Regions from separate parts of the Homo sapiens genome. Here regions 1, 2, 4 and 5 are each linked to region 3. The links are contacts of gene promoters, found by promoter capture Hi-C in blood cells and fetal thymus (Javierre and others, 2016). All regions are on one chromosome and are shown on one strand. Each heading gives the region's core, a stretch centred on a gene start or on the middle of the fragment in contact. The rest is flanking DNA. Distances are from core to core; before and after follow the strand shown. Region 1 overlaps GAS7 (growth arrest specific 7). Region 2 overlaps GAS7 (growth arrest specific 7). Region 3 holds the start of GAS7 (growth arrest specific 7). Region 4 overlaps GAS7 (growth arrest specific 7). Region 5 overlaps GAS7 (growth arrest specific 7).

Region 1 (5,351 bases), core at 1,702-4,201, 220 kb before region 3:
TATTTAGACCAGGGATTACTTTTTCTTCTGAAAACTTTACACAGGCTCTCACCTCCCTTCCACAGAAGCTGAGGATGTCACGCTCAAGGCATTGGAAGATTAAATTCCCAGCCCCAACCACAACTTTGACTTTCATGCTTTGCTGCCAGATTGACTCCTGAAGTCGAAAACCAACAAGTGTGCTCCACACACCATAGGATGGTGGAGACATTGGTGAATTAGTTCAACACGGAAGCCAGGCTCTGCGGACTGAGGATATCACAAAAGAAACAGACAAAGTCCCCACCCTCAGGGAGCTTACAGTCTAGCATGGGAGAGTGAAGGTCAACTAGGAACAGGATGATGGGGACATTAAAATAGCATGCGGCTGAGATCTAAAGTGACTGCATGAGGGCTCAAAATTGAGTGGTCAGGGAAGGCTTCTTGGAGGAGGTGACATTTTTAAAAAGCCACATGAAAGGAGATGTTGTTCTCCCTGCTGATGGGTCCCATAACCTGCCTTCCAGAATCTCAGACCTAGATGTCTCCCAAGAGGCCCCTGAACAAACCTCCCACCTATTATAGGAATGTCCATTTCAGCCAGGCGCGGTGGCTCACACCTTTAATCCCAGCACTTTGAGAGGCCAAAACAGGTGGATCACTTGAGACCAGGAGCTCAAGACCAGCCTGGCCAACATGGCGAAATCCCGTCTCTACTAAAAATACACAAATTAGCCGGGTGTGGTGGTGCGCACCTGCAATCGCAGCTACTCGGGAGGCTGGGGAACAAGAATCCATTGAACCCAGAAGGGGAGGTTGCAGTGAGCCGAGACTGCACCACTGCACTCCAGCCTGGGTGACAGAATGAGACCCTGTCTCAAAAGAGAAACAAACAAACAAACAAAAAAGAACGTCCATCTCAACTGCCTCTGCTTGATTACCTTTGCAGATGGGGAACTCACACCCTCAAAAGGTCTCCCTCACACTGTTTCAGGTGTTTTATTTGAAAGCTGCCTTGTAAACATCTACCTCCTTTTAGCTTCTACTCCGTGATGTCCACAAGAGCCACATAGGGTGGTTCTGTCCACACTTCAGGTCTTCCTGCCCCTGACAGACAGGAAAGAGCTCTGACACCTCACCTCCCCCAGCCATCTCCTCCCACTAAGCGCCTGAGGAGGAGTGTGCAGGAGGCCACCAGAGCTGCTGCTGGCACTGCCAGGGAGACACCAACCTGCTTGGCAGCAGGCCTAAGGGACCCTCTCCCAGGCCCAACCCCTCCCTGGGTTTGCTACATCAGCCAGGTTTAAGACCCAGGACCCATCATCTCAGCCTCTCCACTGAATGTGGCATCAGGGCCCTCCCAGTTGCCCCAAAGCAGACAGCGGACATTACCTGTTGGAGGCAGAGAGCTCCTGTGAGAGCCAGGGCTGGCTGGAATCCCAGGAGAACTGCTGGGACGTTCCCAGGTGGTCTCTGGTGAAAGAAGAGCAAAGAAAATCACTTTGAGAATGTCACAGGGCAGAACCTGAGTTTCACAGAGCAGAAGGAGATGCTCAGAGCTGGAGAAAAAGAGAGACAGCCAATCGCCCTCCTCCCCAACCCTGGCCAGACAGGACCCTGCTTTCTGCTCCCATATCCATCCATCTCCCTTCCTGGCCCCTGCCCCCTTCCACCATCCCATGACCACAGAGCTTGTTTTTGCTGGGGGCCCTTCTTGATGAGGCTGGGGCCAGAAGGAGATGGACTTCCTGTTGAGATGTCAAGATCCTCTAAAATATCCTCTGCCCCAACCTGCCTCTTCATTCACCCCTACTTTGTCTCGGGGCTCTGGACTCTTCTCCTGGAACCCTGAAGTTGCCAACCAGGTATTTCTCCCCAAATGTCCACTGTTACCTGAAACTCCAAAGCACAGAGGTGCAGGAGCCTGTAAAGAGACAGGGGCCCTCTGCCACCTGGTGGTGACTTCCAAGTTTCTTCCTGATTTCGCAGTTCTAAGTCTCATTTGAGCTGTAACTGCTGAATTTGCCTGGTCACCTCTCTCTCTTCCAATGCCCTGCTACAGGCTCTAATCAGAAATAAAACTGGCCGGGCACAGTGGCTCACAACTGTAATCCCAGCACTTTGGGAGGCCTAGGTGGGCAGATCACTTGAGGTCAGGAGTTCGAGACCGGCCTGGCCAACATGGTGAAACCCTGTCTCTACTAAAAACACAAAAATTAGCCAGGCGTGGTGGCACGTGCCTGTGATCCCAGCTACTCAGGAGGCTGAGGCAGGAGAACCCTTGAACCTGGGAGGCAGAGGTTGCAGTGAGCCGAGATTGTGCCACTGCACTCCAGCCTGGGAGACAGAATGAGACTCTGCCTCAAAAAAAAAGAAAGAAAGAAAGGAAAGAAAGGAAAGAAAGGAAAGAAAGGAAAGAAAGAAAGAAAGAAAGAAAGAAAGAAAGAAAGAAAGAAAGCAAAGAAAGCAAAGAAAGAGAGAAAACTAATACTGCAAGCTATAGTATTGTCCCCCAAACACTACTTTACCCATTTCACTGCCATGAGCAGAGACTTCTTATGAAGTTATCTAGTGATAAAAATAATACTTTCTCACTACATACAATTTGATAATGCAGGAAAACACACAAAAATAAATATCACCCATCATCCCACCATTCAGAGGTCATCACCATCAACATTTTGGTATCCATATGTTGATTTGTTTTCTAAGCATATGTTTCTCTTTAAAATGAGACAAAATCAAACTATAGATTCTTTTTATGTATAAATTTTTGTGAATACCTTTCCAAAATCTGTCCAGGCACAGTGGTTCATGCGTCTTATCTCAATACTTTTGGGAGGCTGAGGTGGGTGAATTGCTTAAACTCAGGAGTTTGAGACCAGCCTGGGCAAGATGGTGAAACCCCATCTCCACCAAAAATACAAAAATTAGCCAGGTGTGGTAGCACGTGCCTGTGGTCCCAGCTACTCAGGAGGCTGAGCTGGGAGGATTACTGGAGCCTGGGAAGTCGAGGCTGCAGTGAGCCATGATGGCGCCACTACACTCCAGCCTGGGTGACAGAGCAAGACCCTGTCTCAAAAAATGAAAATAGGCCGGGCGCGGTGGCTCATGTCTGTAATCCCAGCAATTTGGGAGGCCGAGGCGGGTGGATCACTTGAGGTCAGGGGTTCGAGACCACCCTGACCAACATGGTGAAACCCGATCTCCACTAAAAATAACAAAAATTAGCTGGGCGCGATGGTGTGTGCCTGTAATCCAGCTACTCAGGAGGCTGAAGCACGAGAATCGCTTGGTCCTGGGAGGTGGAGGTTGCAGTGAGCTGAGACCATGCCACTGCACTCCAGCCTGGGTGACAGAGTGAGACTCCATCTCAAAAATAAATAAACAAATAAAATAAAAATAAATTTTAAAAACTTTCCAAAATCACTGAAGGGGGCGGTATAGCAAAGTAGTTAGGCTCTGTTTAGTGTGGTGATTCTAGACCCAGACTGCCTGGGTTGGAATCCAGCTCTGCCTCTCACCACCACTATCCTTGGCCAAGCTACTTATTCTCTGTGACTCCCTTTCCTCCTATGTAAAATGAGTTCAATAAGGTGTCCACCCAAGGGAGATACTGTACCAATACCAAAGGCCCACATACATGCCTCTAGCGCTAAGTCATTTTTAAAGTTAGTCTGATATGAGGATATAACATTATTTAGTTAAAAATTCCATTACTGAAAATTCAATTGTTTCAAACAATAAAAACAAAACTGGGTTCTTGACTCAACTTTGCTCCTAAACTACCGTGCAGCCCTAGGCAAATCGCACCACCCTTCTGGTCCTCTGATGCTTCATCCAAAATAAAGAGGTTCGGCTACTTGGTCTCGTAGGCCCCAATACTCCCGCTCTCTAGGTGTGATTGGTGGTCTCAAGGCCCATGGTTTGGGTTTCAGGAAGGGTGAACCTGGACTCCAGGGGCAGGCATAACAGGGGTAATATGGTCCCTTCATGTCTTAAGGGAGAGAAAACAGAATTGAGGGTGATCTGGAAAGCAGAGACGGTGTGAACATAAACCAGACAGTAGTAGGGTCTTTTATGAGGAGTGACAAGGAGAGAGGCTGCCAGCAGGCTTAGGAGCTTCTCCAAGGGACCCACTGGCTGGCAAGAGCAGGAAGCCTTGGAGAACTTACTTCAAAGACCACTGCCCTGCTTAGGGCCCACGTCATAAGCCATTCATACGCTGAGTGACCTCTGGAATCATCTGAACTCTATATTCTGTTTTTCTCAACTATAAAATGGGGATGAAAATGGTACCTAAGTAGGCTGGGAAAGAGCATTAATTGGGTTCACCTGTACAAAGCACTTAGGATAACATCGGGCACATGGTATGTGCTTTCTCAGCACTAAATAAAACAGACAGACAAGCCCGGTGGAGCTTCGATGAGCAAAAGCAGCGAGGTGGGCATCCCCAGGAGCAGATGCACCATCCAGCCTCAGGCTCCTTCCTAGGCAGGCTTCTCTTCTCTCCTGCCCGTTGAATCAGCCCTGCCTGGAGGCCGCACTGTTGCCTTCACATCCACAGAGTCAAGACCGGGCTCCCCTCTCCACCCTCTCCTCCGAGTCTCCTGGGTTCCCTGGCCCCTGGACAACCAGGGACAGGGCTCACTCACCATCACCAGCTCCACCCTATGTCCCATCCCTCATATCTAATTGGTTCCCAGGGCCTGGAGATGCCCCTCCATCACGTTCCTCTTGTCTTCTCCATGTCACTCCAGAGCCAGTCTCCCTGCCTTTTGAAATCCGTCCACTCACAGCTAGTGGACCACTCACCCTAGAGCCCAGCTTTCGCCGGAGGTCACTTCACAGCGAAAATCCCTGGCTAGCTCCTTTCCAACATGGCACACGGAATCAATTCCGAAGTCCACTGGCCTCCTGGCAAAGTGCTCCAGGATCCCAACCCTGACTGCATCCAGACTGACATCCCACTGGCTTCACTTCAGGCCCAGTTAACTTGCCTCGCCGATCTCTAAATACGCCTTTCCCGTATTGTTCACCCATACCTGCCGCCTCCTGCTCCCCCATCCCTGGATATCACAACCTTGTTCACTCATCAAGTCTCAACTAAAATGTCTCTTCCACCATGCAGCCTATCAAGATTGCTCTTCTTCCCTGCAAAGAGTTCTTCCCCAGACTCTCTAGAGTGGGTGCTGTAGTGCACCACCCAAATCTCTCTAGCTGCAGAGGCTCATAGCTGAGTCCCTCTCAGGGAACCGCCCTTAGCCAAAGAGAGCTGCCGTGCCCAAGGCTATGCCTAGAGTAGGGGTGCAGGGTGCACATCTAATGACTGGGGTGAGAGGGGATCAACGGCCCACCAATCCCCTTGTCTC
Region 2 (5,403 bases), core at 440-2,939, 130 kb before region 3:
TTCTAAATAAAATAACATTCCCAGGTTCTGGGGATTAGGACGTAGACAATCTTGGAGAGCCACTATCAGCTGCCCTCATCAGGCCAAGTTGGACCATGGATCAGAAATGTTGCTGTCAATACCTCTGATGCTTCCCCAGGTCCTCCTGGCTGGGACCTCTGGGGCCAACTGTGCCAGTCACATAACACTGGAAGAAGAAATAGCCAGAATGTTGGAGCTGGACTCAGAGTGGAAGATATGCAAGAGCACAGAGTGCCAGGGAGGTTCAGCAGGATTGGGAGCCCCAAAGGAGGTCTATCCGGAGCTCAAGTTAGGGGGCTGTATGCTTGGGGCCAAAATGTAACTTGACCTTGAGATAAGATGAAGGGAATTACAGTATACCCCTCTCCATAACCCCATTTCCCCAGTGACCAGATTGCTATGGCGTAGGGTAGGAAGGCACCATCTGTAGTGGAAATGGGAGGGAGAGGAAAGTAGGGACTGAAGAAGCACAAGAGAGACTGTGACAAGGAGCCAAGGCCAGGCTAATTTGTCGCCCAAGCTGGAGTGCAATGGCATGATCTCGGCTCACCACAACCTCCGCCTCCCGGGTTCAAGCGATTCTCCTGCCTCAGCCTCCTGAGTAGCTGGAATTACAGGCATGCGTCACCACGCCTAGCTAATTTTGTATTTTTAGGAGAGATGGGGTTTCTCCATGTTGGTCAGGCTGGTCTCAAACTCCCGACCTCAGGTGATCCGCCCGCCTCGGCCTTTCAAAGAGCTGGGATTACAGGTGTGAGCCACCACACCCAGCCTGGCCAGACTACTTTTTTTTGTTTTGTTTTTTGTTTTGCAGAGACAGACTCTTGCTATATTGCCCAGGCTGGTCTTGAACAGCTGGCCTCAGGCCATCCCCTCACCTCAGCCTCCCAAAGCACTGGGATTGCAGGTGTGAGCCACTGTGCCTGGCCTACAAGGTCAATTTTTTTAAAAACAGTTAACTGTTTATTTCAAGGTCTATTAATTAGGAAAAAACATATAAGTAGTTTGAAAGCCTGAGATGTGACTGTCATTCTGCAGGACATCAGGACAGCCTTTCTCTGCTTGGATTGGCTCCTGGGGTCACTGAATTTTGGAGTCAGGGGGAGCATTTCTAGGTCACCAAGTCCTGACAGTGTAGTGGTGAAGAGAGTAGACTTGGGAGCCAGACTGCCTGGGTTCAAATCCATGCTTTCCCAGGACAAGTTGCTTGATCTAGCTGGACAATCTCAAGTCAGCAATTCCCGTGAAGACAAAAAATAATAATGATGATGTAAGTATTAATAATAATACCTGTTACAAGGATCAAGTGAGTTAATAATGTACACAAAGCATTAAAAATTGGCCTCTCTTTGCTGACACTGCAGGCAAGTGATAGCTCCTTCTCCCAGCTCCATGGTTCTGCCATCCTTTACAAAAGGCTCTGATGAAATATGGGGGAGGGATGGGGTGGCGGGAGTGGAGTTTCCAGCCCACCACAGCAGAGGCTCCTCTGCCTTCCATTTTATTCCAACTCCCTTCACTTCTTCATGCAGACAAGTGTCCCACTTCTTTTTTTTGAGATGGAGTCTCGCTCTGTTGCCCAGGCTGGAGTGTAGTGGCGCGATCTCGGCTCGCTGCAACCTCCGCCTCCTGGGTTCAAGTGATTCTCCTACCTCAGCCTCCCAAGTAGCTGGGACTATAGGCGCATGCCACCACACCTGGCTAATTTTTGTAGTTTTAGTAGAGACGGGGTTTCACCATGTTGGCCAGGCTGGTCTCGAACTGCTGACCTTGTGATCTTGCCTCAGCCTCCCAAAGTGCTGGGATTACAAGTGCCCGCCACCACACCTGGCCAAGTGCCCCATTTCTGAGCTTACCTCAGCCCTATACCCCCACCCCCTCTGGCTAGGGGGTAATCAGAAGGAAGACCAATAGGACCAATGCTGAATACCTGCCTGGTGATTCACACAGAATAATCAGGCCAACCTCAAGCTAGGAATGTCTGCAAACACCTGTCCTAGTCCCCCTACACCATGACAGTTCTTTGAAAATACATCCCAGACACTCTCCATTAACCCTGCCCAGCCCTGGTTCAGGGTGGGCCTGATCGGAGACCATCAACCATCTCCTGTAAGTCTAAACAGAGGCTCAGACCGGGAGAAATAGATTCATACATAACTGAATCAGGTCCTTCGGAGGAAAGTTGATATCAACATTCCTTAACCTTGACACTAACCACTGAGGTGTGGTCACTGTTACGTTTTGTAAAGAATCGGGGTGTGGCCTCTCTGATATTATAGGTCCAAACCAATGGTCTCTACCTTGGTCATTCCCATGAAAACTATTTTGGGATTGTGCTCTGTCCTTCAGAGGCTTAACACAAACCATACCTGAGACTTCAGCCACACATAAACACACTCCAATACTTCCTCCCAAACCTTTTAAGCTGCTTTGTACGAAGCACAGTGACATCACACAGCACCCCAAAGAGGGACAGGCACCCCCATATGCACTTGATAGGCCGGCTCTTCCCAGAAGCATCATCAACTCCTTCAGGGCGCTTCCCTAAGTTTGATCCTAGGAGAACTTCTGCGGAACCTTTGCTAGAAAGCCCCTGACCCATTGAACCAGGATGACCCACTGACCCAGATGAAGCCCTGGGTTTCCTTCCCTGACCTGAAAACAGAGGCAGGCTATGCTGGGAGTTCCCAAAACCACCCTCAGCTCTGATGTTTCCCAGAAGGACTCATGGGACTCAGCATATGTTTTACTTCTGGTAAAGACTTATGGCCAGACACAGTAGCTCACACCTGTAATCCCAGCACTTTGGGAGGCTGAGGCAGGAGGATCACTTGAGGCCAGGAGTTCAAGACCAGCCTAGACAACATAGCAAAACCCTGTCTCTTAAAAAAAAAAAAAAATCACAAAATTAGCCAGGCATGGTGGCACACGCCTACAGTTCCAGCTTCTCGGGAGGCTGAGATGGAAGGATTGCTTGAGCCCAGGAGTTTGAGGCTGCAGTGAGCTAGGATCGTACCACTGCAATCCAGCCTGGGTGACAGAGTGAGATCCTGTCTCTATTTTTTTTTTAAGGGTCTTATTACAGCAAAAAAATACAAAGCAAAATCAGTGAAGGGACACAGAACCTGGGACAAGGTCCTGAGAAAACCAGGCGCAAGTTCAGGAGTCCTCTCCCAGCAGTCACATAGGATGTGCCTAATTCCTCCAGCAGTGAGTCCTGGTAGCATGTGTAAAACACTGTCTAGCAGGTAAGCTCATTACAGACTCAGTGCCCAGAGTTTTTATAAGGAGCTGGTCATGTAGGCATCCCCTGCCTAGCACAAACATGAATTGCAGACTCCCTGAAGAAATCCAGGTATTCAGCACAAACCGTATTACTCACATGAACAGTTTAGAGAACAGCCACCCTTACTATTCAGGGAATAGTGGGAGCCCTTCCTAAATGCAAGTTCCCAGACACCAGCCAAGGAACAATGTTGCCAGCAGGCCTTTCTAAGGAGGGCTCCCCGGCCTGCTACGTTGACTCTCTCTGCACCATGTCCGTGGAATGGTTACTTGAAGGGATTTCCCCTTTTGTCTGCCCATCCAGTGGCAGAATCCTGCCACTAAATCCTCAACAGGTGACAAGCCTCTCAAACACTTGTGCGGACAGAGAGCTCACTCCCTCACAAAGCTTCCTCTTCCATGTTGGCCTGTGATCCTTGCTAGTCCAGGAACACCAGCCTCTGAGTTCAGTATTTCATGCCAATAAACACTTCACATAATAACCACCACTACTATGATGTTGGGTCAGGCCTTGGGCCAAGCACATGACAAGCATGAGCTCATTTAATATTAATGTTTTATGATGGAGTCAACTATGCCTTAGAGACGCAAAGCGACTTGCCCAAGGTCACAGTGTTAATGGGTTTGAACTGTGGTCCATTTGACCCCACAGCCGGAGACCCTGAACCTCCCACACCCAGTATCTCCCGGGAGCCTATCTTTCACTGATCACCATTCTAATTTTCAGCATACTCTCATACCACTTTTTCCTCTTATTTGCTAATATTTTTAGTTGACTCACTTTTTTCTTTTAAAAATTGCACTGAACAGAAAATTGATGTGAGTCTGTGAATGGAAAACTAGTGACATTTGCCAGAAATCTATAATAACCATAAAAATAACCACAACAAACACCAAGCAATGTTATTCAATCTTTGCTGGATACTGCTACCTGCTGAGGCCTGCCCTCACCCGGCACCTCCCAAAACTTTCTCCTCAATGTAATCAGAAGCAAGGAGAGAACTGCAAAAGGAATACCCTTCTCTTGATGTGATTCACTGGTACTGAAAGTCTCGTCCAGAGACCACCTAAACCCATCTTGGCACAGCATCTCGGGAAATGCTATACTAGACCATAGGCACTAGATGACCTGCCCTGTTGAGCTCATTAGTCCCAGCAGGGACTCCTAGCTTTCTATGCACCCCACTCCTCTATCCCCAGTCTTGAGGTTTGTTCCATCTCCTTCCTCTCTCATTCATTCTCATTTATTCGCCAACTTTTGTGGCCACTAAGTCCTGGGAATCATCCAGCCACCAGCCTGGGTCAGCTGCCCAGCCTCCCAGCCCAGCTCTCCCTTCGTTCTCTCTCTTCTTTTTTTTTTTTTTTTTTTTTTTTTAATTTTTAATTTTTGGAGATGGAGTCTCGCTCTGTCACCCAGGCTGGAGTGCAGTGGCACGATCTCAGCTCACTACAACCTGCGCCTCCCAGGTTCAAGCGATTCTCCTGCCTCAGCCTCCAGTGTAGCTGGGACTAAAGGCCTGCGCCACCATGCCTCGCTAATTTTTGTATTTTTAGTAGAGACGGGGTTTCACCATGTTCGCCAGGCTGGTCTCGAACTCCTGACCTCTGGTGATCTGCCTGCCTCAGCCTCCCAAAGTGCTGGGATCACAGGCGTGAGCCACTGTGCCCGGCCTCCCTTCATTCTCTTTCTGTTTTCATGGGTTCTGCTCAGCTTACCAGGCTACTAGCCTGGTCTTGCAGAGAGAAAATGCCAGCAAAGATGCCGTCCCTCCTGCCCTATTCTAAATCTAGAGTCTAGGGAGAGGGAGGCAGAGGCAGAATGGGGACATCACAACCTATGGGACAGAGGTTGGGGTGGTGGCGAAGGAAGAGCATACAGAGAGTAGAAGTCAGAAATGTGCTATTAGGTTGGTGCAAAAGTAATTGCGTTTTTTGCCATTAAAAATGGACAAAATAGCAATTACTTTTGCACCAACCTAAATATTTCTCTAGAAACCAGGGACTCCCACATCCCCATCCCTGTCTGACTCCTACACAATCCTCTGGCCTGGCATCTGGAACACCTGCTCAGCCCAATCATGAACTCAAAGGAGCCAC
Region 3 (4,877 bases), core at 680-3,179:
CTCCTCACCGGACAGACATCCATCAGCCAAATTTCCACATCAGAATTTCCTGGAAAAGGGTGACCACCCGAAGAACTCCCAAAATACGTATCTATCCCAGGGCTTCAAGCTAGAAACAAGGAGGCCCCTTGCTTCTCATGTAAGAAGCAATACGTTCGCTTTCTTTTACATCCGAATCTCGGGAAAGGAACTGGAAAAGCCAGGGCAGGGCACACCTGAGCCTCTCCTACAAGTAGGGTATCTCCGGATTCTCCAGATACAGAACCAAGAGGGTTCCTGCAACATACTCTGCTGACAGCCCATGAAAGCTCATTCCAGCAGCCCCTAAACTTTGCTCAAATGCTACTGATGCCTTTAGGAGAGATTTTGTTGTTCTCTGGACCTGAAAGCAATCTAATGTACTTTTATAAGGCCAGGCTCTTGCTGACAATGTTGCCACAGGATACATCCTCAGGCGGACTCACCCTGTAACCATTTCACTTCTTTCTTTCTTCCCCCCGCCCCCGATGAATTGCACTGAGCATTCTCAGTCAAAATTTGCTACTTTCTCTGTGAAGTAGGTCAAGAGTTAAATAATAAATAAATTCAGCCTCCATGATTTCTTCCGGCAGTGTTTTACCAGAATGTTTAGGAATACTGACACCATTGAAGGTAACTGTTAATTTAGTCTTTACAAGAATCCTGGGGGCAGGCGGGCTTCTAGTAAAGGGGATGTCCTGGAAGGTCACCCCCCCACACACAAAGGACTTTAGAAACTTCGGGTCTCACTCAGGCTGTGACTGCGAGCTCAGTGATTAGAGGACAGCCTGTCACATAGACAATAAACAGCCAGCCGCCTTGCCTCAGCAGGTCCTGTGCAGCCCTGGGGCCAGGCCAGAACCCCAGGAACAAGCCACTTTCGGGTTCTGAGCCTTAGCCTCGGGGAGCTGGACCAGGGGAGCAGGCAGTGGCGGGGGGTGCTACGGCACCCCAGGATCAAGCCTGCTGAGGGGGCTCGGGCTGGTGGCCAGCAGGCTCGGCTGACCAGCAAGTGGGTGGTCCCGAGGCGGCCAGGCAGCCTGACCCAAGGCAGCACGACCGTCCACGGGTCATCAGGCTCTAGACTCCGGGGTGGAGACGCGGGGCTGCGGGACCGAGTCGGTGCCACTTTCTCGCACCCCTGATCCTCCGTGCCTCTTCCCAAGACCGCCAGACCCTTCACCGGCCCCTGCCACTGCCGGGAACGCTCCCGCCTGCTCCTTAACTCACACAGGCAACAAGTTCTCGCTTCCTCAGAGCAGCCACGGTGTGCTCCGGAGGCCCGGCGCAAGGTGGAAGCTCCCCGCGAGTCCGCGTTGCCCACGCCCCGAGGGGCGCCCGCTGCCGTCGCTGCCCCCCAGGAGCGTGGAGCTACAGGTAGCGCCGGCAAGGGCTGCCCCCCGGGGCGCCCCTCCGACCGGGACGCTGCGGCATCCCCGGAACGGGCAACAGGTACGCGAGCGCACCGAGGACCGCAGCCCCGGCTCCTACAGCCCCGGCCCTCGCCCCTTACCTCCAGCAACTGCACGTAGCTCGCCGGGAACCAGCCACGGAGCCCGTCCTCCTTCTCGCCTTCCCACCAGCCGCCGTCCGGGACCTGCAGCAGCGTGATCAGCTCGCCCGCGGCGAAGCGCAGCCCCTGGCCGTGCCGCTCCCCGGAGAAGGGGTACAGGGTCCGGCAGCGAGCGCCGGACATGGCCTTGGCGCCCGGGTTCACAGCGCAGCCTGCATTCCCGCCGAGCCCCACGGGCTGGGCAGCGGCTCCGCGGGGTCCCAGGCGCCCGGCGCTCCGGGCTCCCGCGCTCTGGGCGCGCGCCGTCTCTGGGGTGCGCGGGGGTCCTCAGGCAGGCGGGGGACGCGCGCTCCGCGCCGGGAAGCAGAGACTCGTTGGCTTCGCAGAGCGAGCGGCGACGCCCCCGGGCCGGGCAGCTCGCGGATCCTAGCTCTGGGCTGGGGGGCGGGGCTCAGGGGGAGGAGACCCAGGCGCCGCGGGCTCCGGAGACAACTTCCCGGGAACGCGGAACGCGGGCTGCCGCCGCGAGGGCTGGCCGGGGCCGGGGCCGGGACCGGGGCCGGGGCCGCCCTGGCGCGCGGAAATGCGCAGCTCCCCCGGGAGGTGGGACCCGGAGCATCCCCCGCGGCAGGACTCCGCGGCGGGCGGCCGTGGAGAGGAGCTGGCGGCCGGGTGGCCGGGCGGGGGTTAGCTCACTGGCGAGGGGGCGGGCCGGGGCGGGGCCAGGGCGGCCACGCCCGCGGAGGGCTGCGCGCTCCCTCGCAGAGGGGCCTGTCACTGGGGAGAGGGGCTCCCACTCGCGCCCCCACCGCCGGGGACCGCGGGAATGGAAACGCCCCTCTGTTCTGTGCCTGCTTTGTAGGCCTGGCGGCCCGTGGCGTGCGGGCGGCTTCTTCGAGGTGTCTGCGAGGGATCGTTTGTGGTTGTCATTGTAGTGGTTGAACCTGGGGTTGAACTTGTCTCACCGGAAACTGAACAATGGGTGAAAGACAGGTTTGAAGCCTGGCGCCTGAGCCCAGCAGCCTGGTGGCAGCGTGGCACGCTGGAGGGACGGAATGGAGAGAAGACGGGGTCGGAGTTGATAGAATTGGAAACAGTCGATGGGGATAAATGGAGGAAAGGCGAACGGTGAGAGGAACAGCACCAATGCTTTTACTTGCAGAGGGAAGGCCGGCCCAGGGTACCAGCCCTCCCGAAATCGAGATGGGTTGGCTAAAGAGTCTACACTCATGTAGTCAGTCAACAAACATTACCAGGAGGCTGCCATGTTCCATGCGATGTGCCAGGTACTACAAACATCATTTGGGCCAGTCCCTGCTCTCCAGGGACCAGTGAACCTGAGTGCTGCAGAATGTTGACCTTGAACTGACCGTACAGAAGTAAAAGAAAGCTTGGTTTCTTTGCTAGTCTACTCCATAAAAAATTTTAAAGAAATAAAATAAAGTACATTTTTTAGCCTGTAAATAGCTGGACTCGGCCAGGCGCGGTGGCTCACGCCTGTAATCCCAGCACTTTGGGAGGCTGAGGCGAATGGCTCACTTGAGGTCAGGAGTTCAAGACCAGCCTGGCCAACAAGGTGAAACCCCATCTCCACTAAAAATACAAAAATTAGCCGGGCGTGGTGGCGGGTGCCTGTAATCCCAGCTACTCAGGAGGCTGAGGCAGGAGAATGGCTTGAACCCGGGAGGTGGAAGTTGCAGTGGGCGGAGATCATACCACTGCATTCCAGCCTGGGTAACAAGGGTGAAACTCCGTCTCAAAAAAAAAAAAAGCTGGACCCTTTAATACGCCTGTATACCTCTGTCTACTCCTTCCCCCCTCCCCCAGTCACCTTCTGTGGCTCCCTATTGCCTTTTAAATTTGGTACAAACTTCTCTGCCTGTACATTTCAGGCCCTCCACAACGCCTCCTCTAGCTTCACCTCTTACTATGACTGCCTAGATATCCATTACAAAACCAGTCAGGCCGGGCTCCAAGAGCCTGAAGATCTTGCGCACCTGTCTATGCTTTGAATCAGACCCTGGCACAGAGCCTTTCACCTAGTTCAATGGTTCTCAATCCTGGCTGCACATTACAGTCATTATGCAACTTTTTAAAAATACTCATGCCCAGGTTTTAAGAGTCACTACTGAGCCCTAGTCTGCAGCTAAGCCATCTCACCTGAGCAGCCTCCATCTGTTCTCTGGCCATGGGCAAAGTGACACAAGCAGATTATTTGTAATAGTCCATCAATTGCAAAGTCTTGAACATTCGCTTGGCCGGAAATATAAAGAAACAAACTCTTGACCACAGTCACCACTAAGAGTCCCTTAAAGCGGAGCTGCATAACTTCATATCAAAAACAGTCATTAAAAATAGCTGGCCCAATGAAGTTTTAAAAGAGATACAATTCCTTGTATCAGGAAAATATGTGACTTCCAGCAGGCTGTTCTGAGGCTTCATTCCTGATGATGTGGCCTGAATCAAGGTAGGACAACTGATTTCCAGCCATCCTGCAACCCTAATTCTCTGCATGCCCGTGAGGAACTGTGATCCAGTTTGGACTTGAGAAATCGCAGCCTACACAGCATGCCATACACTTGAGTTCTACCTGACCCACCTCAAACATTCCTGCAGCAACCAAAAATGATAATAGCTGTTAATTTCTCCACTTAATTCATTTCATTCCTGTAATCCTACGAGCTGATGAGGTGACTGTTGTCCCAGTTTTCAGGTAAAGAAACTGGGCTCAAAGAGTGTGACTTGCTCACCATCATACAGCTGGTCAACAGCAGAATCAGCTTTGAACTCAATTCTAGCTTATTGTACACTGGTGTTGCTTTCTGTCGTCCCCCCTGCCAGTCAGAAAGCAGGTATCCTAGTGACTCACCCACAAATAGCATCTTAAGAGAAAGTTCTCTAGGCTGGGCACAGCCTGTGAGAGCTTATGCCTGTAATCCCCACACTTTGGGAGGCCAAGGCGGGCGGATCACGAGGCCAGCAGATTGAGACCAGTCTGGCCAACATGGTGAAACCCCATCTTTACTAAAAATACAAAAATTAGCTAGGTGTGGTGCCGCGTGCCTGTAATCCCAGCTACTCAGGAGGCTGAGGCAGGAGAATCGCTTGAACCTGGAAGGTGGAGGTTGCAGTGAGCCGAGATCACGCCACTGTACTCCAGCCTGGCGACAGAGCAAGACTCCATCTCAGAAAAAAGAAAAGAAAAGAAAAGAAAAGACTCTCTGGTGATACCCAATGTCAGTCTTCATAGAAATAAGACTGGACTAGCAGTTAGTGGAACTCCTGTTGCTGATCTCTTATCAATCAGGTAACCTCCAAATCCTCAAGTCTTCCCATACCTTTGGGT
Region 4 (4,618 bases), core at 1,812-4,311, 150 kb before region 3:
CCTGAGTTTTCCTGAGTTCAACGGCATCAGATAAGACCAACCCTCTTATTATTTTTTTCGTTTCAGTCAAGTTGAAAACTGTCAACCAAAATAGGCCTTATTTGCTGTAGGCCCTTGTCCTCTGTAGGATGAATTGGGTTGTCTTAAAATGATAATTAATAGGCCGAGCACGGTGGCTCATGCCTGTAATCCTAGCACGTTGGGAAGCCAAGACGGGCAGATCATGAGGTCACGAGTTCAAAACCAGCCTGGCCAATATTGTGAAATCCTGTCTCTATTAAAAATACGAAAATTAGCTGGGCGTGGTGGCACGTGCCTGTAGTCCCAGCTACTTGGGAAGCTGAGGCAGTAGAATCACTTGAACCTGGGAGGCAGAGGTTGCAGTGAGCTGAGATAGTGCCACCGCACTCCGGCCTGGGTGACAGAGCGAGACTCCGTCAAAAAAAAAAAAAAAAAAAAAAAGATAATTAATAAGAAAACACATCTGGGTAGGGTGATGACTCACTTTTGTAACTGCTTCACAGTCATGAACGGAAAAATTATTCATCAGCCCAAGCAGTCTCTAGGGTACAGGGTCTCAGGGACGCCCCCTTCCTCCATACGTGGCCCCCTGTCTGCATGATCAATCAACCAACTAATAGTTACTAACTACCCTTTCCTGAATCCTGTGTGGGATGCAGGCAGGTATTGTATGTAGGACCTGACTCCTAAAATTCGGAAGCTAAGTCGCAAACATGGGCAAAAAAAAGGAATAAGTATCAAAGGAGTCTTCAACAGTGCCAAATGCTATGTGATAAGCTGGCAGACAATAAGAGCTTTCAGAATCCAGAGGAGGGCGAGGTCACTCTTGGCTGGGATGGTACAGGGAGGCTTCCCAAAAGATAAAGAACTTGCCTCACAGCAGGGATAAAAAACAAGGGCTTGACTGGAGCCCGAGGAACATGATGTACGAAGCAGAATAAGGTTTGATAAAGGACGGGACATAAGGAAATGAGAGACAGCGAAGTTGATTCGGAAGGAAATGACAGAAGTTCGAACCAGTAACTCGAAGAGATGTGGCTATGGTGACAGCCAGTTTAGGGGGATGCAGTAGAGTCTGTTGACCATGGATCCAAGTTCAAAGTGTTCGGTGGGGAGTAGGGGTGAGTCTGGCCCTTGGCACATGGAGCTGGAGCTGGAGGCATCTGCTCAGAGATGGTGGTGAGATCCTACAGGCTGACAAGGAGTTCACAGAGAAAGAAAGGACCTTGAGCTGAACCTTGGGGCATGCTCTTGCTTAAGCAGTGGGAGAAGAATTATTCTCCCCCAGCATGCCTCAGGCCCAATCCCTCCCTCTCCTGTGCCTTTCATTAGTGCATGCAACACCCCCAGGGCCCCTCTCCAAGACTTTCAAAGGCAAGAACCAGGTCTTCATCTTTTTCACCTCTAACCAGACTAGTGCTCAACACTCAGGGGCTACATGGGGAATGAACGATGTGAGTTCTGAGAATCAGGCAGAGAAACCAAATGAAGAGGGGGGATACAAGAAGAAATAAGTACAGCTGACCCTTGAACAACACGAGGGTTTAGAGGTGCTAACCCCCATCTCCCCATGTGGTTGAAAATCTGTACCTAACTTTTGACTCCCTCAAAAGTTAACTACTAACAACCTACTGCTGACTAGAAGCCTTAGCGATAACCTAAACAGTTGATAAACATGTATTCTGTATGTTATCCATATTACAGACTTTATTCCTAAAGTAAGCTAGAGAAAAATAAAATGTTAAGAAAATCATAAGGGGCCGGGCACAGTAGCTCACACCTATAATCCCAACACCTTGGGAGGCTGAAGTGGGAGGATGGCTTGAGCCCAGGAGTTCGAGACCAGCCTGGGCAGTCTGGTGAGTGAGAGCCCATCTCTACAAAAATAAGTGAAGATAAAAAATAAAAATAAATTAACCTGGCATGGTGCATGCCTGTAGACCCAGCTACTAGGCAGACTGAGGCAAGAGTATTCTTGAACCCTGGAAGTTGAGGCTGTAGTGAGCCAAGATTGCTCCACTGCACTCCAGCCTGGGCAACAGAGTGAGACCCTGTCTCTAAATAAATAAATAAAATCATAAGAAAGAGAAAATACACCTACAGTACTGTACTGTATTTACTGATGCCATAAGTTTACATCATCTGTTTAAAAGATGAAACCTTTGAAATGGTGGCAGCAGCAGCTGCAGACGTCAGTCTACGGTACCTGACAAGCAATTGAACTTTTTCTTGTAATGTCAGGACTTTTCTCTGCTTCTGGGGAATGCTTTCAGCATCACTAGTGGCACACTCTATGGGTCCCATGGTGTTATTCGAGGCTTATGGCATTGCACTAAACATGATGAAAAATACATAGAACAGTGAGGGCTTACATTTTACTGCGATACCCAATTTACTGGAGTGATGAACTGTTCATCCAGGGCTGATCAGCATCACATGACAAGCCGATGCTCTCAACACCTGAGCTCACTGCAATAACAACTAGGGGTGGCCATGAAGTTACTACAGTATATACTATGGCTAGTTTTATGCAGTTATGATTAATACTACATCTTTGCCTTTGTTTACATTTTGCTTAAATATGAATGGTGCCATACACAGTCTGAGTGTTTGTGTGGGTAAAATTTTAAAAATTTTAACTTTCTGTAGATTTGTATGTATTTTGTGGTAGTAAATGATAAACTAGTATCGAATATATTTTATGTATTCACGGCATGTCTAACATTTTCTAAATTTTTTTGGTATTTCTAGACTAGGTAGTCTGTCTTCAATTTTTTTCAAATTATCACAAATCTCCAAAAATATTTTCCAATATATTAATTGAAAAGAATCCACATATAAGTAGATCTGTGCAGTTCAAATCCATTGTCTGAGGGTCAACTGTAGTTAAGAGTGTCCGGCCAGGCGCGGTGGCTCACGCCTGTAATCCCAGCACTTTGGGAGGCCGAGGCGGGCGGATCATGAGGTCAGGAGATGGAGACCATCCTGGCTAACATGGTGAAACTCCATCTCTACTGAAAATACAAAAAATTAGCTGGGCATGGTGGTGGGCACCTGTAATCCCAGCTACTAGGGAGGCTGAGGCAGGAGAATCACTTCATCTTGGCAGTGAGCAGAGATCGTGCCACTGCACTCCAGCCCGGGCGACAGAGCGAGACTCCATCTCAAAAAAAAAAAAAAAAAAAAGTGTCCAAGTGAGATGCCAAAGAAAATGCTCGCTGAATACAGAAAGGGTGTGTCTCATTTATCTTGGAAAGAGAAATATGGAAGAGTGATGGGTGTAGACTTGGATCACAGGCACACAAGGACCTATGAGCATAGGATGCAAAGGGAAGCAAGATCTTTAGATAAGATGCCATTAAAGAAGAGAACAAGAAAGAGGACAGGCCATAGACTGTGGCTGGCTCCAGACCAAGGGCTGTGCTGGGCAGAGGGCTCCCGTGAGGTGACTGCAGCCAGTTTCTTGTACATATCATGGTAGAGTCCTAGGACCCTTATAAAATTTCTATGTGTCCCACCCCATAAAAGATTCCTAGTATTGGCCGGGTGTGGTGGCTCACGCCTGTAATCCCAGCATTTTGGGAGGCCGAGGCAGGTGGATCACCTGAAGTCAGGAGTTCAAGGCCAGCCTGGCCAACATGGTGAAACCCCGTCTCTACTAAAAATATAAAAATTAGCTGAGTGTGGTGGTGGTCGCCTGTAATCCCAGCTACTCAGCAGGCTGAGACAGGAGAATTGCTTGAACCCAGGAGACAGAGATTGCAGTGAGCTGAGATCGCGCCATTGCACTCCAGCCTAGGCGACAGAGTGAGACGCTATCTCAAAAAAAATTCCCAAGTATCAAGTGGACATATCAGAAACGGCACCCAGTTGAAAAGGCCTCCAAACAGCCCTGATTCTAAGAGATCCCACAGCTTGGTTTCCCCTTCCTGCAGTCATTCATATCCCACTGTGACACCTTGTTCCATCCATCACTGTGTACCAGCCGCACTATTATTTACTCAATATTTTTTTCGAACTGACTTATATCCCACTGAAATGTAGTCTGGCCCTAAGCAATAATATCTATGAAATCACAGATTTGATTTGGTTTCTTTCTACTACACACTAAAATAAATATAACTTTAAAACTGTCATCTCCACATGATCTAAAATTATCTCACGGATCCTTAGTTGGAAACTCAGCACACTTTGAGAAACACTGTCTCTGGCTACACATCAAGTCACCATGCAGCATCCACAAAGTGGTTCTGGAGATTCTTTTTTTTAATCCAGAAAACTGAACTTGAATTCTCTACTGACTACGTCCCCACAACGACAGGAACACGGTACCCGGCGTGTGACTGAATCTCTGGGAGATTAAGGGCATGGCAAAAGGAGATGCAGGGGACTTCCCTGTAAGAAGCATCTGACAGCTGCCCCAGGACACTGCCTATCAAACCAGCAATAAGAGGAAAAGAACAGGAAATAACTCATCCAATCTTAAAAACAAAATCCAAAAATGACAAACAGAATCGGAGGAAAAAAAAAAAAACTCGAGAACCATGAGGCCAATGAAGGAAATGCAGAAAATCTTGCAAACCGCTGGGCGCGGTGG
Region 5 (5,264 bases), core at 1,315-3,814, 230 kb before region 3:
TCCTTGGTACTAATTTCAAAGGCAGGTATTTGGAATATCCTATTGTACCAAGAGGTAAGAAAGTATTCAGAGAATAATGGAGAGATAACAAAAGAACATAAACAACTTAAAGGGCTACCACAGGCCAAATCTGCGACAATTTGAGCACAAATATGAATGAATGACTGCAACTAACTAACTAACTCCAAAGGGGAAGGGAGAGAACATTTATTTCAGAAGAATGCCAATAAAAAATGTACAAGAAATTGGATGACCACCATTTGCAAACCCCAGCCTCAAAGGGGACTCAGGCCATGATCCTCAAGGATGCTGAAAGCAGGGGATGGAAAGACTGCCAGGGCACAGGATACTCACAGGGTCTTACACTGGCACCTCACAGATGACTGACAAATTAGAAAGGGAAAATGTACCCCTGCAAAGGAGAAATCTGGCAGTCAGCACCTTAACCGAGAGTGCAAACTGAGCCTCATGAGTAGGGTGCCAACCTGGGTGGTTGTGCCCCCAAATGCAGTAAAAAGAACCCCACATGCCCTGTCCAGCTATTCTTGCCCAAACTCCAGAACCTGAACCTACGCATAAGAGAACAGTCAGACCAAGAACGCAGGTTATTCTATAAGACACCTGACCTGGACTCCTCAAAAATAAATCGTCAAGGTGATGAAAAAAAAAAAAAAGAAAAAAAGGTGTAAGGGATTGAGTGTAGAGGCAACGAGACAGGCAACAACTTGGATGAAACGTTCTATCCATACGACAGAATATTCTTCTGTCATAAAAAGGAATGGAGTGTTCATCCATGCCGCGATGTGAATGAACCTTGGAATTCCAGGTGAAAGAGGCCAGACACAAAAGACCACAGATAGTATGATACCATTTATATGAAATGTCCAGAAGAGGCAAACCCATAGAGACAGAAAGATTAGGGGCTGCCTAAGTCTTCAGGTGATTCTGCTTGGGTTGATGAAAATGTTCTAAAATAGATTTGATGATGGTTGTAAAACTTTGTAAATATAGTAAAAAACACTGAATTGTATACACTTTAAATGGGTGAATTGTATGGGTATGTGAATTACAGCTCAATAAAGCAGTTTTTTGGTGGGGGAAGAGAGAGAGAGAGAGAAACAACAGAGACACAGCAACCAGTGTATCTGTGTGTGAACCTGAAGGGATCCTGGACTGGGGAGAAAAGCAGCCATAAAAGGGATTTGGGGGCCAGGTATGGTGGCGCACACCTGTAACCCTAGGCTTTGAGAGGTTGAGGTGGAAGGATCGCTTGAGCCCAGGAGTTCTAGAATTCACGAGCTATAATGGTGTCACTGTACTGTAGCCTGAGGTACAGAACAAGACCCCATCTCTCTCTTTTTTCTTTCTTAAAAAAAGGCATTTTTTGAGACAATTGAGGAATCTGGAGTGTATATATTAGGCGGCATTATTGAATTAATGTTTTCTTAAATATGATAATGGTATTATCATTATGTCTTCTTCCTGGAAGATACATTCTGAAATATTTGCATTTAAAACAGTAAGTCAGAAATGTGGTTTAAAATAATCTAGGGGGTGGAGGGCAAGGGGATTGGGGGAGGGGATGGGAGCACAAATAAAACAAGATTGGACAAAGGCAGGTAATCGTTGGGCTTAACAGATTTGTGGTACCTTATTATATATTCCCTCTACTTTTGCAAAGGTTTGCAAATGCCTATAATAAGAGTATTTGTTTTAAATTTCCTTTGCCTGTGATTCCAGAGAACTCTTCCCTTCCATTTATTTTGTAAAGGCCTGCCCAGGGGTCAGGACACCCCACCTGGGCATCTCTGCATCACCCTGAGGCCTGGCAGGGGGTGATACCACACAGGAAGTGCTTGGTAAACTGGAGTGGGTCATTCACAAGTGATTCAGCAGGCCCCCGACTCCAAATGTCTTCTCAGCCCATTTCCTCCCCCCCTGCAAATAATCTGGGTCCCATCCCTTCAGCAGGTGGGATCCTGTACAAAACCCCTCAATGGCTTCCCAGTGCAGTTAGGATAACCCCTGAGCTCCTCGTGGCAGGCCTGCGCAGACTACCCCAGCCTCATTTCCCACCCTCCCTATTCCTGCTGATTTAGTAAGCCACAGCCACACTGGGTCTCTATGCGTAAACACGGTTCCCCCTTGCTGCCTCCAGGCATCCACGATGCTATTCCCTCCCCTGGAAAGCTATTCTTTCCCCACCTCTTTGCCAAGTGAAACCCTTGCTCATCATTCCAGTCTTAGAATAGGTATCTTTTCTTAAGGTACCTTAATTCCTGACATTTCCAGCACCAGGCTAGGTTCTCACAGCATCCACTTCCTCCAGCCTTTGTCACTGCTGAAATTGCACCATTATTTATCTACTGTTTCTCCCACACCAGCCATAAAACTCCATCAACGCAGGGCTATAGATATCACCTGTGTCTCAGTGCCTGACAAAGACCGAAATTGCTCAATAAGAACATGTGTTATTGAATTATTGAGGTAGGTAGGAGGTGGTGGAGATTAAACATCTCACCTCTTTCTCCACTTTGAACTCCATGCTCCAATGGGTCCCTCAAGTTTCCAAGCCCTTCGTCCCATTCTCTTTCCTCTCTCCTGTGTCTAGAGGGTCTTCCTGGGAAGTTCGTGAGAAGCCAGAACAATTGAAAGGTGGATCACAAAAAGGCCCAGGCACTGGTGGGCAGGAAGGGAAGGGACCCACTAGGACGCGATTCTGCAAAGGCAGCAAGACTATTAGCCTTTGATCTAGAACCGGAAATACCATTTGACCCAGCAATCCTATTACTGAGTATACCCAAAGGAATATAAGTCATTCTACTATAAAGACACATGCACACGTGTTTATTGCTACACTATTTACAACAGCAAAGACTTGGAACCAACCCAAATGCCCATCAATGATAGACTAAAGAAAATGTGGCATATATACATAATGGAATAGTATGCAGCCATAAAAAAGAATGAGTTCATGTCCTTTGTAGGGACATGGATGAAGCTGGAGGCCATCATTCTCAGCAAACACAGGAACAGAAAACTAAACACCGCATGTTCTCACTCATAAGTGGGAGATGAACAATGGGACCATATGGACACCGGTGGGGGAACATCACACACCAGGACCTATCGGGGCGTGGGGGATAAGAGGAGGGAGAGCATTAGGACAAATACCTACTGCACGCAGGGCTTAAAATCTAGATGACAGGTTGATAGGTGCAACAAACCACCATGGCACATGTGTACCTATGTAACAAACCTGCACGTTCTCCACATGTATCCCAGAACTTAAAGTAAAATAAAAAATAAAAAAAGATGATTCGCCTTTGATCCCTCGCCTCTGCCCCCGAATCAGGTGGGCTGCATTTACCCAGTACCTGGGCCGACTGCCCCAGGGCTGCAGAATTGAAACCCTCCACTGGGTGGCACCAGATCACCACCTCCTGTGCCCACCCATCCAGGTCTCCAAGGGCTGAGTGAAGGAGCGGGGCAGGCACCCTCAGGAACTGTGGGGCACCCACTATCAGTCCTCCCCATGACATAGTATGGTGGGGACACGTTACTGGTGTCCGTGGAAAGTCCCTTTCCCCATCCCCCGACACCCACCCCCCAAAATTCTTTTTTTTTTTTTTTTTTGGAGATGGAGTCTCGCTCTGTCGCCCAGGCTGGAGTGCAGTGGTGCAATCTCGGCTCACTGCAAGCTCCGCCTCCCTGGTTCATGCCATTCTCCTGCCTCAGCCTCCCGAGTAGCTGGGACTACAGGTGCCCGCCACCACGCCCGGCTAATTTTTTGTATTTTTAGTAGAGACAGGGTCTCACAGTGTTAGCCAGGATGGTCTCGATCTCCTGACCTCCTGATCTGCCTGCCTCGGCCTCCCAAAGTGCTGGGATTACAGGCTTGAGCCACCACGACCGCCCCCTCCCCCCAAAATTCTAATCTTCCTGATCAGCTTGCTCAAGGAGGGGCAGCTAAGCAGGGGGCGGAAAGAGATCACAACCGGGTTTTGAGATCTGGGGCTTTCCAGTCTAGGTTTCGTCACTGTAACCCTGAACATGCCACTTTATCCACCCCACATGCCGCATCTCAAGTGTTCCTTTGCTCATTTATTCATTTATTGATGTTTAAGTGTAGTTATCATGAGTGATAACTGACAGCAGGGATGGTGAATCTACTCGTCTGCATGCTGGAGTGGGGTCTATACCTGGGGACCCTTTGTTGGTAGAGCTCTCTGTAAACACCAAACCTTCTTAACCTATTTGTATGTTTAACTCTTGGCACCTTTTTGGATAACCAGCCTGCAGGCTCACAAACCAGGACAAAAAGTAGTAGCTAGCTGGGCGTGGTGGCCGGCGCCTGCAGTCCCAGCTACTCCAGAGGCTGAGGCGGGAGGATTGTTTGAGCCCAGCAGTTCCAAGCTGAGGTCACAGTGATCTACGATCACCTCCATGAACAGCCAGTGCATTCCAGCAAGGGCAACACAGGGACACCCTGTTTCCTAATTATTTTTAACTTAAAAAAGTAGTAGCTTTTATATACAAATGTTACCCTTTCAAAGCCTAAAAGAATAACATTCTACCTCCTGATCCTGGGACTGGTGAACAACGCACGTTCGCCCTCTCCATATACTACATGATTTATTTTTGTTACCCTGATGACACCTCAGCTCCCAAGGTTACCATCCAAAAAGAGTCTGACTCAATCCGCCTGTCTTTAGGCAGCCACTATCTACCCGGGCCTGCATCTCCAGAGCTCGCCTCTCCTGAATTCCCCATACTGGTACCTACTTTGTAGCTTTTTTTTTTTTTTTTAAGTAAAAAATTGTATCTGCCTTCTATAAAAGTAAAATGTGTTCATTTTAGGAAATTTGAAAAATAACAACAAGTGTAAAGAAAATAAAATGACCCATGATCTTAGACCAAAGGTTCTCAACTTCAGCACGATTCATGTTTTCAAGTTGAGCACTTCTTTGCTGTGGTGTCCCATGCCTTGCGAGATACTCAGCGTCATCCCTGGTGTCACCTACTAGTTGCCAGTAGCACCCCCCCTCCCCAGGCGTGACAATCCAAACGTCTCCAGACATTGTCAAAAGTCCCAATTGATAGCCATGATCTCAGACGCAGACAGAGCCACCGTACGTTTTCCAGTTTTCCTTCTAGTCCTTCTTCCTAAGTATAGATAAGTATAGATTTCCTTCTGCCAAATAAGACTGACTATATATGCAATGTGTGTCCTACTTTTTTTTTACTCTATTTTATGTTGTGAG

What was found. Contacts are between HindIII fragments. The CHiCAGO score rates a contact against its expected background, and 5 or more counts as called.
Region 1: a contact is called between a fragment that was not itself captured here and the fragment with the promoter of GAS7 in region 3, in 11 of 17 cell types (monocytes, neutrophils, M2 macrophages and 8 more). The highest score is 27.8, in monocytes.
Region 2: a contact is called between a fragment that was not itself captured here and the fragment with the promoter of GAS7 in region 3, in 8 of 17 cell types (neutrophils, monocytes, M0 macrophages and 5 more). The highest score is 17.1, in neutrophils.
Region 4: a contact is called between a fragment that was not itself captured here and the fragment with the promoter of GAS7 in region 3, in 6 of 17 cell types (monocytes, neutrophils, M1 macrophages and 3 more). The highest score is 15.8, in monocytes.
Region 5: a fragment that was not itself captured here is called in contact with the fragment with the promoter of GAS7 in region 3 in 9 of 17 cell types (neutrophils, monocytes, M2 macrophages and 6 more); the score reaches 26.6 in neutrophils.

What each region holds. Positions count from the first base shown.
Region 1 is chr17:9,980,433-9,985,783 of GRCh38, forward strand. It overlaps GAS7 (growth arrest specific 7), which reads right to left. Exons shown (of 14, transcript NM_201433.2): 3 at 1,372-1,452. Among named protein-coding and RNA genes, the nearest start is that of RCVRN, 78 kb to the left of the region's middle. RefSeq lists an enhancer at 718-1,219. The HindIII fragment of the contact is 8,587 bases long and covers 1-5,351 here.
Region 2 is chr17:10,065,686-10,071,088 of GRCh38, forward strand. The region is part of intron 1 of GAS7 (growth arrest specific 7); the gene reads right to left. Among named protein-coding and RNA genes, the nearest start is that of GAS7, 130 kb to the right of the region's middle. RefSeq lists an enhancer at 2,695-3,194. The HindIII fragment of the contact is 4,005 bases long and covers 1-3,692 here.
Region 3 is chr17:10,196,677-10,201,553 of GRCh38, forward strand. GAS7 (growth arrest specific 7) reads right to left here and starts at 1,930. Exons shown (of 14, transcript NM_201433.2): 1 at 1,532-1,930. The coding sequence starts at 1,714. The HindIII fragment of the contact is 8,346 bases long and covers 1-2,919 here.
Region 4 is chr17:10,041,854-10,046,471 of GRCh38, forward strand. All of the region lies in intron 1 of GAS7 (growth arrest specific 7), which reads right to left. Among named protein-coding and RNA genes, the nearest start is that of RCVRN, 140 kb to the left of the region's middle. The HindIII fragment of the contact is 7,290 bases long and covers 1-4,618 here.
Region 5 is chr17:9,962,380-9,967,643 of GRCh38, forward strand. All of the region lies in intron 4 of GAS7 (growth arrest specific 7), which reads right to left. Among named protein-coding and RNA genes, the nearest start is that of RCVRN, 60 kb to the left of the region's middle. The HindIII fragment of the contact is 7,970 bases long and covers 1-5,264 here.